Regions from separate parts of the Homo sapiens genome. Here region 1 is linked to region 2. Evidence: promoter capture Hi-C in 16 types of primary human blood cells and fetal thymus (Javierre and others, 2016). All regions are on one chromosome and are shown on one strand. Each heading gives the region's core, a stretch centred on a gene start or on the middle of the fragment in contact. The rest is flanking DNA. Distances are from core to core; before and after follow the strand shown.

The links. Contacts are between HindIII fragments. The CHiCAGO score rates a contact against its expected background, and 5 or more counts as called.
Region 1: a contact is called between a fragment that was not itself captured here and the fragment with the promoter of C11orf87 in region 2, in 1 of 17 cell types (M1 macrophages). The highest score is 5.6, in M1 macrophages.

Annotation. Positions count from the first base shown.
Region 1 is chr11:108,723,976-108,730,269 of GRCh38, reverse strand. All of the region lies in intron 13 of DDX10 (DEAD-box helicase 10), which reads right to left. The region is part of intron 2 of LOC124902750 (a long non-coding RNA gene); the gene reads left to right. Among named protein-coding and RNA genes, the nearest start is that of DDX10, 62 kb to the right of the region's middle. The HindIII fragment of the contact is 326 bases long and covers 3,093-3,418 here.
Region 2 is chr11:109,418,924-109,425,592 of GRCh38, reverse strand. C11orf87 (chromosome 11 open reading frame 87) reads right to left here and starts at 3,403. Exons shown (of 2, transcript NM_207645.4): 1 at 3,330-3,403; 2 at 1-2,218. The coding sequence starts at 1,959. The coding sequence ends at 1,366. The HindIII fragment of the contact is 3,414 bases long and covers 2,237-5,650 here.

The sequences.
Region 1 (6,294 bases), core at 2,006-4,505, 700 kb after region 2:
GTGAAGCTGAACCCAGAGCTACACATACAGCTAATCTTTTCGAAATGTTTAGAAGTAAAGCAATCTGAAGGAAATTCAGAACCACAGAATTTACTGACTGAAATACATCCTATTGTTCATACCAAGAATAAGAGTGGAGAGGGACTATTGTTTTCCTGGTAAAATTATAATGGAGGCAGAAGAGCATCAGCCATGGAAGGTAAGCTTTTACTCTGAATTGCCAAAGTGGAACTTCATGCCCACTTGAATTGATCCATTAGAACTAATGGATCCAGAATCCACGATCAGACAAAACTGTGATTGACAAGGGAAAAAAACAAACTTTAGAAGAATGTTTCCAGATGTTCAAAATGATTCATCAGCTTACTAGTAGTTGGGAAGGTATTCTAATGGTCACAAGAGATATCATTAAAGAATTTGCAGACCAAATCTCCTCTCTGGTGTACATTAACGACGTGCATTGTGTTGTTTGTTTTAGAGACAGGGTCTCTCTCTGTTGCTCAGGCTGGAGTGTCGTGGCTTGCTGTAGCCCTGGACTTCTGGGCTCAAGTGGTCCTCCCACCTCAGAGGGATTACAGGTGTGGGCCACTATGCCTGGCCTGATGTATAGTATTAACAAGTGAGTTATTAAGTACAAAGTAGAAAATCCAGTCAGGCATCATATGTTTAATGGAGGAAAAAAAAAAAGGCCTGCAACAATTTCTTTTGTTCTTCCTTGTTTTGTTTTTTTCACTCTGAGAAAAGGATATTTGCTCAGTCGAGCTGCACTGTCACAAGCAGAGGCTGCTCCCTGCATCAAAGGCACTTGTGAGACGATGCCACTGAGTGGATGCAGAATCATATTTTATGGTAGTTACTGAAATGTGGGTTATTCAATCACTCCTCAGGGACTGATAGTTTATCAGGCCAGGAGCAAGCTGTGATGTGCTAAAACCTCTCTGGATGGAGATGAGCAGATCTGAATATGGTCTGGAGGAATTTGTGACCCTCCTTCAATAAGAGCGGCATAAGGAGGTATTACGTAGTGTCACTGGGGCCCTCTTAGAACCCTGTCGATAACCCAAAGAGACCTAGGTCATCTTATGCCCTAATATGTGTAAGCTCGGTAATCATTTGGGGGTAAAATTTTTGAAACAATTACTATAAAGTAAGTGTTTACATGAGATAAGGAGAAGATTCCTATCTTGCATTTTCGAACTGTAGAATCAGTTCCATGTTATGCTGGTGAGAGTAGTGAAAGTGAAGGAGAGAAGAAACCTGCCAATTAGTAGAACTCTTTAAACGGAGATTCAAAAAAAGGATATTAACCTAAGTATCCAACAGCAGGAGAATGGTTAAATAAAGGTTAATGGCATATTAGGCAACCATAAAAATATTTGCGAAGACACTTTAATGACATGGGGAAATATATATACCTAGGAGCATCTCACTTATTTAAAAATGGGTATATGAGCAGGGCACAGCGGCTTACTGCCTGTCAGCTCAGCACTTTGGTAGGCCAAGGTGAGAGGATCACTTGAGGCCAAGAGTTTGAGACCATCCTGGGGAACACAGAAAGAACCCACCTCTACAAAAAAATTTTTAAAAATTACCCAGGCATGGTAGCATACACCTGAAGTCCTAGCTACTCAGGAGGCTAGGGCAGAAGAATCGCTTGGGCCTGGGAGTTTGGGGGTACAGTGAGCCACAATCATGCCACTGCCTTCTAGCCTGTGTGACAGAGCGAGACCCTATTTCTAAAAAAAAAAAAAAAAAAAAAAAAAAAGAACAAATGTGTATGTATACTTAAAAAAACAAAGACAGTTGTTATCTCTAGGTGGTGAAATTACAGGTTATTTTTATTTTTATTTGTGATTTTCTGTGTTTTACTAGAGATTTTCCACCAAAAATAAGCATTTTATAATCTGGGTAAAAGGGTATTTTACAGGAAATTTTTCTCAAAACCACTCTTGCAGAGTCCCCCGCCCTGCCCCTCAAGAACAGAGCACTCAACCTTGGAAGAACATCATCTCTGGTGCCCTGGATGTGAGAAACACTAAGTCTGAGCAGGACTGAGAGGAAAGGAACCTAAGTTAGGAAAAGGGCTTGTTGTTGTTGTTTTCTTAGAATGAGCATTTAAATTTTTACAGCAATTTGCCAAAGTAATTTCATGTCTGTTGAATTTAAAAATAATTTTCAAATGGGCTTGTATACTGTGTGTGCTTTCTGGGTTTTTTTTTTCTTTTTTCATTTTTCTAGGACTTTTTTCCCCCAACTTAATAAAATTTGCATTTACTAAAATGTACCCATAAGGATCATGTTTTCACTCATCTTTAACCATGCCCTTGTCACAGCATAAAATGAAAATGTAGTTGTTCAAATAGGAACGCTAAAGTTGAAGGATGAAATAGTTGATGATCTCTTCACATGTATTTTCTATGTGTCCTTTCTAGGAATGACTAAAAAGACTTAGTCATTCCTAAGTGAATGTGAATCTATACTTGAAAGTATAAAACGGTCCAAACAAGAAAACTTAGACACTGACGTTAGGTAAGGACATTGTACCTTAGTAGTTAACATTTTAAAAAAAACAGAATGTGAATTTTTACTGTTTTGATTGTGGGTGTAATGGATTTTTTTAAATTAGCTATTAATTGATTTCTAAAATAGAAAATAAAATCAAGAACCCTACTGTTTAAAGTGAGAATACAATTCTGAATTTATTCATATGGCAATAAAATTCTGAGTATTTTTACTTGAGTAAACAAAAGACAACATTTCAAGGAATTTGGAATAAAGTAGAGAAGGCAGGGAAATGAACAACTGTGTGTGACAAGGGACACAAAGCAAAGTTAAAAGCCAGAGACAATAACTTTACTGTTTGAGGACATCTTACGAATCAACAGGAAAGAGACTAATATCATAACAGGGAAAAATATGTGTAAGCAATATATACACAAATTAAGAAAGAAATCATAACTTTCTAAATAACTGTTAATATTGATATAAATTATTAATATTCATATTGGAATCAAAAAGAGATTCAAACAATACAGACGCTAGTAGGGCAACGATCAACATGACCTCTATGCTGGCAAAACATATAAAAAGCTTTCAAAATGTGTCATATTCCCAGTCAAGTCATCGCAAAAAAAGAAAACTGCAAACCAATATCCCTCACAACAACAGAAAGATCCTTAACGAAAATATTAGCAAATAGAATCCTATAATATAAATATAAAGAAATCTTGCTTAAATGGAGTTTTTCAAAGGAATTTAAATTTGATTCAACATGTAGCAGGGGGAAATCAATACACCATAATCAACAGGCTAAAAACCACCACGTCATCACCTTAATGTTTACAGAAAAAGCATCTGACACAAGTCACAATTCATTTTATCATAAAAACACTAAGCCAGCTAGGAATAGATGGAAGCTTCTCAAACTCATAGGCATTTACAAAAAAAACTTACAGCTAACATCAGATGTAATGGTAAAAGACTGAATGCTTCCCCCTCAGTAAGATCAGGAACAACACAGCAATATCTACTCTCACCACTTCTATTCCACAGATCCTACTCGGTAAAATCAAGCAAAAGAAAAAGAAAGAAAAAAGAAATATATGGTCCACAGATGAAAAAGGAAGAAATGAAACCATCCTCATTCACAAACCTCATAATCAGTTACAAAAGAAAATCCCAAGAAACTCCCAAAAAGCCACAAGAACTAACAGGTCAGTTTAGAATGATCAGTCTACAAAAAACAAACTATTTCTATATACTGGCAACAAATAATTGGAAATTGAAATTTTAAAAATACCATTTATGATAGCATTAAAAAATATCAAATAGTAAGAGATGACTCTAACAAAATATGTGCACATTACATGTGCTTAAAGTTATAAAGCAATGCTAAAAAGACACTAAAGAAGGCCTAAATAAAAAGGTATTGTTATGATGTCAATTCTCTCCAGTTAGATTTACAGATTCAATGCAACCTCAATGAAGTCATCGGCAAGCTTTTTATACGAAGTAACTAGCTGATTCAAAACCTTACATGAAAATGCCATGGTCCAAAAATAACCAAAGCAATTTTAAGAAAATATATATCAGTTGACAGACTCAAAGATCTGATTTAAGACTTAGTATAAAGCTACACTAATCAAGATTGGTGTTATTGGTGAAAGGACAGACGTATCTTTGAAAGTCAACTGACTTTCAAAGAGTCAAGGTAATTCAATGGAAAAAGCATAGTTTTTTCCAAACAAATGGTACTGGATCAACTGGATACCCATATGCAAAAAAAAGTGTACCTTGACCCTTACTTAGCATTATATACAAAAATTAAGGTGAAGAGGATCCTAGCCCAAATTGTAAGTGCTAAAACTATAAAACCTCTGGACGAGAACATAGGAGAAAATCTGTGACTTTGGGTCAATCACAGATTTATCAGATACGACACATATATAAATTACCTAAAATGTGATTGAAATCAGACTTCAAAATTTAAGATACCTGCTCTTTGCCAGACACTCAAAATAAAAACAAGCCATAGATTGGGAGAAAGTATTAGCAAAATATATCTGATTAAGGATATGTATTCAGAATATACAAAGAACTCGTAGAACTTACTAAGGCAACACAATTTCAAAAGAGAGACAAAAGACTTGAAGACATTTCACCAAAGAAGATATATGAATGGCAAATAAGCACATGTAGAGATGTTCAGTCATTAGGGAAATGCAAATTAAAACTGCAGTAGGGTATCACTACATGCCTACTAGAATGGCTAAAATTAAAAGACTGACAATACCATGTGCTGACACGATGGGATGCAACTCGAACTCTATACACTGCTGGCAAGAACACAAATTGGAAGAGCTGATTTGGAAAACAACTGGGGAGTTTCTCAAAGTTAAATATACCCTTAACATATGTTCCCAGTAACCCTATTCCTAGAAAATAACCCCACTCGTTTCCCCAAGAAATGAGAAAATTATCTACATAAAAATGTATATGTTTATAATGACTTTTGTCATAATCACCAAAAAATGGAAACAACCAATGCCAATTTAAAGCTTAAGAAAACCTACATCCATCCAATGAAATACTTACTCAGCAATTAAAAGGAACAAACTACTGATGCATGCAATAACGTTAAGCTAAATGAAAGAAGCTAGACACAAAAGACTAAATACTGTATTATCCTATTTATATATCATTCTGAAAAATGCAACACTACAGGGGTAGAAATCAGATCAGTGGTTGCCAGAGGTTGAGTGAAGGGTAAAGCAATTGCAAAGGGAATAAGAAATGTTTTGGGGTGATGACGCTGTTCTATTCTTAATTGTGGTAATTACACAACACCATACATTTGCCAAAACTCAAACTGTATATATTAAAGAGTTAGATTGATTTAGATAACTGACATAGAGTAAAACTTTTTTAAAAGCTTAAAAAGTTGTTTTGCTATATACATTTTTCAAATGCCAGATGAGCTATTAGTACTTAGACACATGTCCTACTTACGTGAACAATTCATGGTATTATAAAACTATATCATTCCTTCTCATCTTAATTTGAAGCTTTGGTTATGTTCATGATTCTTAGAAAGTGATATACATAATAGTTAATACAGTGGCTAAATTATTTAAAACGAAAATCTAACTTCTTGTATTTACTTTGCTGATAAAATGAGTCTTAACTACAGACTTAAAATGATCTAATTTGAAGCAGGATGAGACAGTACAGGATTATTGGACAAGAGCATAAATATTAAAGTCAGAACACCTATGTTCAAATTCCAGCTTTGCCATTTACTACCTGTGTGCCTCACTACAGTACTATATTGCTTCTGTGCCACAGTTATTTTTTTTCCGTCACCTGTATAATGAGATAGTAGTAACGACCTTTATTTCAAGCACTAAATGAGATAATGTTCAGAAAATGACTAACACATAACACATATTAAGTGTTCAATAAGCACATTTTCTAGGTTTTTTTTTTAATTTTTAGTTACTTAAAGAAACACTCTTCTAAGTTTCACAGTCAAAATCTATTATGTATTTCCTACTGTGAATCTTGAAATTTTATTCAACATTGTATAAAGAGTAAGAATCAAGCTTCATTTTTTATTCAATTCCCTTTTAAAAAGATGATCAAGAATAAAGGCATATGAAGTAGGAAGGGGAATAAGGGAGAAGGGGAAACACATTTACTGTGCACCTACAAAAGCATCCTAGAAAACAAGTGCTTTATCTAAATGGATTATTTCTTTTGTTCCTCCTAGAAGATGGCTACGGAGAAACAAAGGAT
Region 2 (6,669 bases), core at 2,154-4,653:
GTCATCTTTTTATAACAGTCTACTACAGAATAAGGTACAAAAGAACACTTCTGGAAACAGCAGAAGCCAGGTCTGCACCACTGAATTTCTCATCCAGTGGTAACCATTATATCAACAGCTGGAAATTAAGAACAATAATATACAGTTTGGAGGACATAGTACAGAACTATAGTTTTTTTCTGTATTTGGTACCAATATACTAAATATATAACAAAGGTGCACTTGTTCTAAAAATAAAACAAACGTTCTAGTTGGTTAGATACTGCACTTTCAGTACTGCACATCACCTAATACTTTTTTTTTTTTACAAAAAAGGTAACTTATGCAATGTTTAATAATAAGAAAACCAATAGTACACGCTAACTCGATTGTAGAAAAAGAAGAAAGAACCCAACCAAAAGCCAGAATAGTCACTTTCCAAAACAGCCCCTCCTCTGCCTTCACAACTAGAGGAAGTAATCAGAACGGTGAGGCGACTTCAGCACCAGACCTGGCTGGACAGCTCCCAGATCCTTTGTAAATCCTGAAAATGTCACAAGTCAAAGGTGTACGGGTGGGGGCGGGGCAGGGAATGAAAGCGTTAGCTTTTTAAAAAAAACTCATTTAAAGATTTTAACGTACTTATGCTCGGCCAGCGAGGGTCATTTTAAAAAGTAAATTAAATGCTCTGTCCTGGAAAATGTAATGGTTAACCAAAGGGTGAGAAATGGGCGGACTGGCGAGGGGTACCTGTCATAAACACTTTCCGGGGACTATTCTCTATGGCCTCTTGCAGTCCTGGTGCTTAATGTAGACATTTTCTTTATAATATACTATTGCCTGAGCCCGGCTGAGGGTGGGAATGGGGAGGAAAGGGAAGCTAAAGGAAAAGTGAAAGCTTAGGGGTCAGAGGGGAAGGAAGGAAACTAAATCTTAACTTGACAGCTATGTACATTACCGGGCCCCCTCCCCTCCCTTTGCTCCGGGAATCAATGCCTTTTATATATTTGGTAGCTTGTGCGGTTTCTCCTCCTAATTGAGGGGAGCGCGGGGTGGAATGGGAAGATGCATCCTCCATTGACAGTTAGAAATTATGTGATTTGTCATGCGCTTGGATTGTGTTATTAGTATTATAATAATTACTATAAATATTAATAAAGTATTATTATCAGCGTTATTTCTTCTTCCGAGACTTTCCTCGCCCAATATTTACAAATACCGCACAGTGCCTCGGCGGAGGAGAAACAAGAGTAAGGGGAGGGCAGGTAAGGAAACCAGGAAGAGGAAAGAGGGGCCAGAGGAAAATGGAAAAGGAAGGAAGAAGGAAAAAAGCAAGGGTGGCAAAGATGCTGGAAACGAGGACGGGGAACGAGAGGGGCTAGACGATCAGGACAGTACCACCGTTTGCAAAAGGCCCTCGCCAGCTGTGTCCAAACAGGAGGAAGCTGCGTGTGCTCCTTGGGGACTGGAGGCTGGCGGTGGAGGCGGAGGAGCACAGGGACCCTGGCACGGGAGGCCAGGGGACGAAGAGGACAACGACGAGGCGTTGGAAGGGGCGCAGAAGGGAGAGTCCCGGGGCTGCCTCTCCAGCCGGGTTTCCTTTGCGTGGGTTGGGGCCTGCCTGCCAGGTCGGGGCAGCCCCCCGCCACCGCGGCTGCCGCTGCAGTGATCCCGCTCATATTCCTCCTGAGCCCTCTGCATCTTCCGCTTCTTCATCCTACGCTTGTGGATGTGGAAAGTGGAGAGGGACAGCACGATGAGGCAGAAGATGAGGGTAACCAGGACAATCAGCACCAGCGTGGAGGAGAAGGACTGGAAGAGCTGCTGTCCCACCTGCGTGATGCAGGTGCCGCTGCCTACTGCGCCTGGGCCGCGGGCACCCGTGTTGCCGCTGCCGCTGGCGTTGGGGGAAGCAAAGGTCCGGTTGAGGAGACACGGCGGCAACGCCAGCCTCAGCTCCTTCGGCGCCCTGGCACTCATTGGCGCGGGGCTGGGAGGGGCCAGGCCCACTAGGCTTCCCCTCTTGGGCACACCGTTCCTACCAGCCAAGAAGAGGACGGAGCCCACGCCACCCAAAACTGCTCCCTGTAGCGGGAGGGGGTGTGCGAGCGAGCCAAGGACTAAGGGAGCAACTGCTGGCAAGCAAGGCGACCAAGGAGTGAGCGGCGCCCGAGAGATCCTCGCCGATACCACCTCGAACACGTCTCCACGCTCCCCTTTCCTTTGCAGAGGCACCAGGCTGCAAAGACACAAAGCTTAGTTAGAATCTCGGCCGCTGCCCAGGGGAGTGCTGTCGGGAAAGATCAACCACCACCGCAAAGCGGCCCTCTGGGCACACTGCCTGAGCTGGGCGCTGCCTGTATTTTCGGTCAGCGGACCCCAGCCTGCCGGCCCGTGGCCGTGCACCAGAGCCACCAGCAGCCTGCTCATGCCACTCGACAGGATGGGGTCTGCGCCGGCACCGCGGAGGTGCAGATTACTCAGCAGATAAGGCAGCCTCCCTTCCGCCCTTCACAACTTTATAATTGCAACAGACACGCAGCCGCTTTGGTTGAAGTCCCTACTTCCCAGAGCGCCGGCTCTCCTCTTTTCTGCGCCCTCTCGGTTGATGTCTTCGCCTGGATCCTACCCTTCCCAGCACCCACTCCGGGCCGCCGCGCGGGCTCCGGGTACGCAGTCCTCCCTTCCTTTCCCTCCCCGTCCAGACTCGCCCTCCCTGGACAGCGTCAGATCCCTTGGGTCCCATTCCCAGGGGGATACCCCTGGCACCACATCCCACTCTGCCTCTGTCCGCGACCGCGGCTGACGCGCAGGAACGCGCTCCATCTCTTCTCCAGCCTTCTTCCCTGGTATTCTCCCCTCTCCAAAAAAAAAAAAAAAAAAAAAAAAAAGCAGCTGAAGCATCTTTCTCAGCTGACACATTCCCACAAACGGCCCCCTCCTCCCCATTTCCCTGTGCCCCCAACTTGGCAGTAGCCTGCTTCTTTCTAGAGGAGCTGGAATGGAAAGGGGAGGGTTCCCGCCTGCAAAGTTTGGGGAACGGGACCTTCTTTCTGTCCTTCCCAGACCCAGCCCAAAGGCCCCGAGGCTTTTCCGGCATACTGGAGCCGGTAGACCCGCAGCGCACAGGAGAGCCTCCTTGCTGCTCCCAAGAGGCAGCTGCAAACTGTTGCACTGCGGAGTAGCGAGGTAGCGCGCAAGCAAGCCAGGGCAGGGGCCGGGGGCAGGGGCGGGGGCTGGAGCTATGGCCAGGGGTGGCTGCTCAGGCCGCGTGAGCTGTCCTCCCCACTCGCACCTGGCCGTCAGGCCACCCGGCCATCAGAAGCCTTTACTCACACCTTGTCTCTTACCTGGACCGCCGGCTGGCTGCAAGGAGGGAGCCCCCGCCGCGCGGCTGCAGTGGCGGCTGCAGAAAGCGTGGAGTGAATGGACCAGAGACCGAGCCGCGCTGCTGCCGCCGCCGCCGCCGCCGCCGCCGCCTTCGCCGCCGCTTCAGGGAGCTGAGCTCGCAGCCTATTGCCAGAGAGGCCGGTGACGTCAGGCAGCCACCGCCAGGGCTCCAAGCCACCCCTCAGGCCCCCACCCACCCTAGTACCCCAACACCTTGTCCTAGCATAGCGAGCCTCTGACACACACTTCCCAGTTCCCTGCCCTTCTCCAGCCCAGGAACTAGGAGGAGCAACCCCTACCTCCACCCTGCAAGCAACCCACCTTTCTCACTCTCTTGCCTAGGAAGAGTTGAATCTTCAGTTCTCCAGCTGTCTGATTTCGTTCTAGAGCTGACCCTTTGGTCCCAGAATCACATTTTTACACTCTGGATAGCCATCTACCATCGGTGCACACATCACCGGTGGTGATGAAAATTTCCCCCACCGCTAATTCCTCTCTGTGCTGCCCGTTTCTGAACATAAACTGCGTGCATTAGAGAGATGGCAGGGACGTTTCTCAACATAAGTGTGACAGAACCCAAAACACAAACCTGAACAAATTAAACAATCCAAATTAGCCATTTTTCTCCACTGGAGTTTCCAAGTTATCTTTCGCTCCATCTGATTCAAGATCCTCCTTCTTGCATCCCTCACATCTTCATCTCCAGGCCCCAGACCCACTCAATGTATTAAACACTCCTTCTATTCTGACAATCTAGACACTCATGAGCACACAAACCCTAGTCTTACAAGGAAGAAATATGAAATTATTCACAGGAAGGCAGAAATGAACTGCCTTATGAAAATTCCAAGTATTTGTAGCTTGCACAAAGTACCCCTTCATTGACCCTAATTCTTGGTAAAGTGTTTGGAGCACAACTTTTAGCAAAATACATAGAACTTCCAGAAAAGAATTCAACAGCCTCCCTAAATCTTGGAAGAGACTAGTTAACTATTGGTTTAGGAGCCTTGGAAAAATATGAATAGTGCATTTGGTTACAGAATCCAGCTTTGAAATGGAGTATGCTCATTTTTCTGTTGGAGAAGCTAGCTGGGAACAGTACCTAAAGACATTGCATGGTCTTTGAAGGCACTCAGGTGTCTTACTAAACGTGCGTTTTCTTCTTTGCTCCCTGTCTTCTTTTCTATCTTTGAGTCTAGCACAGTGCCTGTAGTTTACTTGATAAATTGAATGATACAGTGTATGTTGTTGCTCTTTCCTGCAATGCATCAGAAATGACTGATGCCCAGTTATCTGCTTGTATTTGCTGTATTTGTAAAGAAAGAGGGTCTGATATGTGGAGGAAAGGCTGTCTGTAATCTGGGGGTCCCTTCTTCGGACTCTGTGTTTAGGGTCATACAGTTACTGATGTCTGCCCCCCGCCCCCACCCCAATGCTAGCCTCACCTTCCTGACTGGAATGAGAGCACCAGATGCCTGCAATAGCCACCTGCCACATTTGGACAATTTGACTTTGGTGGGCTTAGGGGATGGAATGGTGAGCCTTTTTATTTATTTATTTATTTTTTACGCTGTGACTAAGTGACACTTTACCATTGATGCCTGACAGGCAATGTCCCATTTTTTCACACTCGCTTTGCTCCTGAAAAGTTGAGTCTAATAAACATTTTGTAAAGCAAATCCAATTTTGGATTCTCCAAAAAGAGATCTGGCTATTTCAAGAGACTCTTTAGCAAAAAATAAAAAATTTTTTAAAAAATGTTATTTTGTAAAGCAAAGAATTTTTATGCAATTAGAATTAACTCTTGGCCAGGCACGGTGGCTCATGCCTGTAATGTCAGCACTTTGGGAGGCTGAGGCAGGTGGATCACCTGAGGTCAGGAGTTAGAGGTCAGCCTGGCCAACATGGTGAAACCCTGTCTCTACTAAAAATAACAAAATAAATAAATAAATAAATAAATAAATAAATAAATAAATAAATAAAAGCCGGGCATGGTGACAGGCACCTGTAATTCCAGCTACTCGGGAGGCTGAGACAGGAGAATGGCTTGAATCTGGGGGACAGAGGTTGCAGTGTGCCAAGATTGTGCCATTGCACTCCAGCCTGGGCAACAAGAGTGAAGCTCCATCTCAAAAAAAAAAAAAAATTAACTCTCAGTCGTCTGTTTTCTAGATTTGAAGGAATTAGTTATTGGGCTTTCCCTATGGGGAATATACCTTTACAACATGTTGTAATGGGATTACAATATGTATGTAATGGGATTCTTCTTGCACACCAAGCTTCTAGGACATGTCAGAAGGCTTCCAATGTTATTCTTTTGTTACAAATGATAGCCATCTGTTATACCAGGAGTGCTAAAGCTGTGTGCATTATTTTATACACCCTATGAAAAGACAAGATCTTAATCTGGAGAACTTATACTCTACAGCAGATAAATGTGATTCACCAGAAAATGGTATTTAACTAGCAATGATTTAGGTAGATTAAAGACATTAGTTTTCAGATCAAAAGCATAGTACCCTTTTTTGTCTTTTCTCTTTCAAGAATAGGCAGTAGGTTCATAATTTATTCTTACCCAGAGGACAAATGTACTAAATACGTAGATTTGGATGTCATTGGGTAGTGTGTTTTAAACCCAAGGAAGAGCAATGACAGCAAATATGGGCACCTCTTGGACTGCAGGAATTGATCCCACTGAGTTGCCACATGATTTTTGGCACATCTGGCTGAATGGCAAGGCTTCTTCCAGACAACACCATTGTTGCCACTATTTTCGCCACCAAACTTCACAAGCCACACTCCCAAGAGTAGAGAACCAAGAAGCTCCTGAGATTCCTATAATCTTCCCTTGTAATGGGAAAGCCCCTCTGGACATAAGCATGTTCCAAATATTTAAGAGCATTTAATATTTGCTTTCAAGTTTAATGAAGAATCTCGATCTAACTTAGATAAAAGTGCCACATGGGCACCTGTACCTAAATCTAAGCAGCATTGAATCAATAATAATAATAGCTATTATCCTTATTTGCAAAACACCTACTATGTACCAGGCTATAGTAAACCCTATATTAGCATTAATCCTCTCTACAACCTCGTAAGGTTATTTTTGCCAAAATACAAAATTATTCATTTACTCATTTGTTCAACAAAAATCTGAGTACCTGCTATAAGAAATGTGAAAAAACTAAAGCTCAGAGTGTTTAAAGACAATGTCTAAGTAACCCACTGAGAAGTATATTACCACATATATTATTGGGCTGAAACACAGGTAAACTGATTCCAAAGTCAGAATTCTTTTTA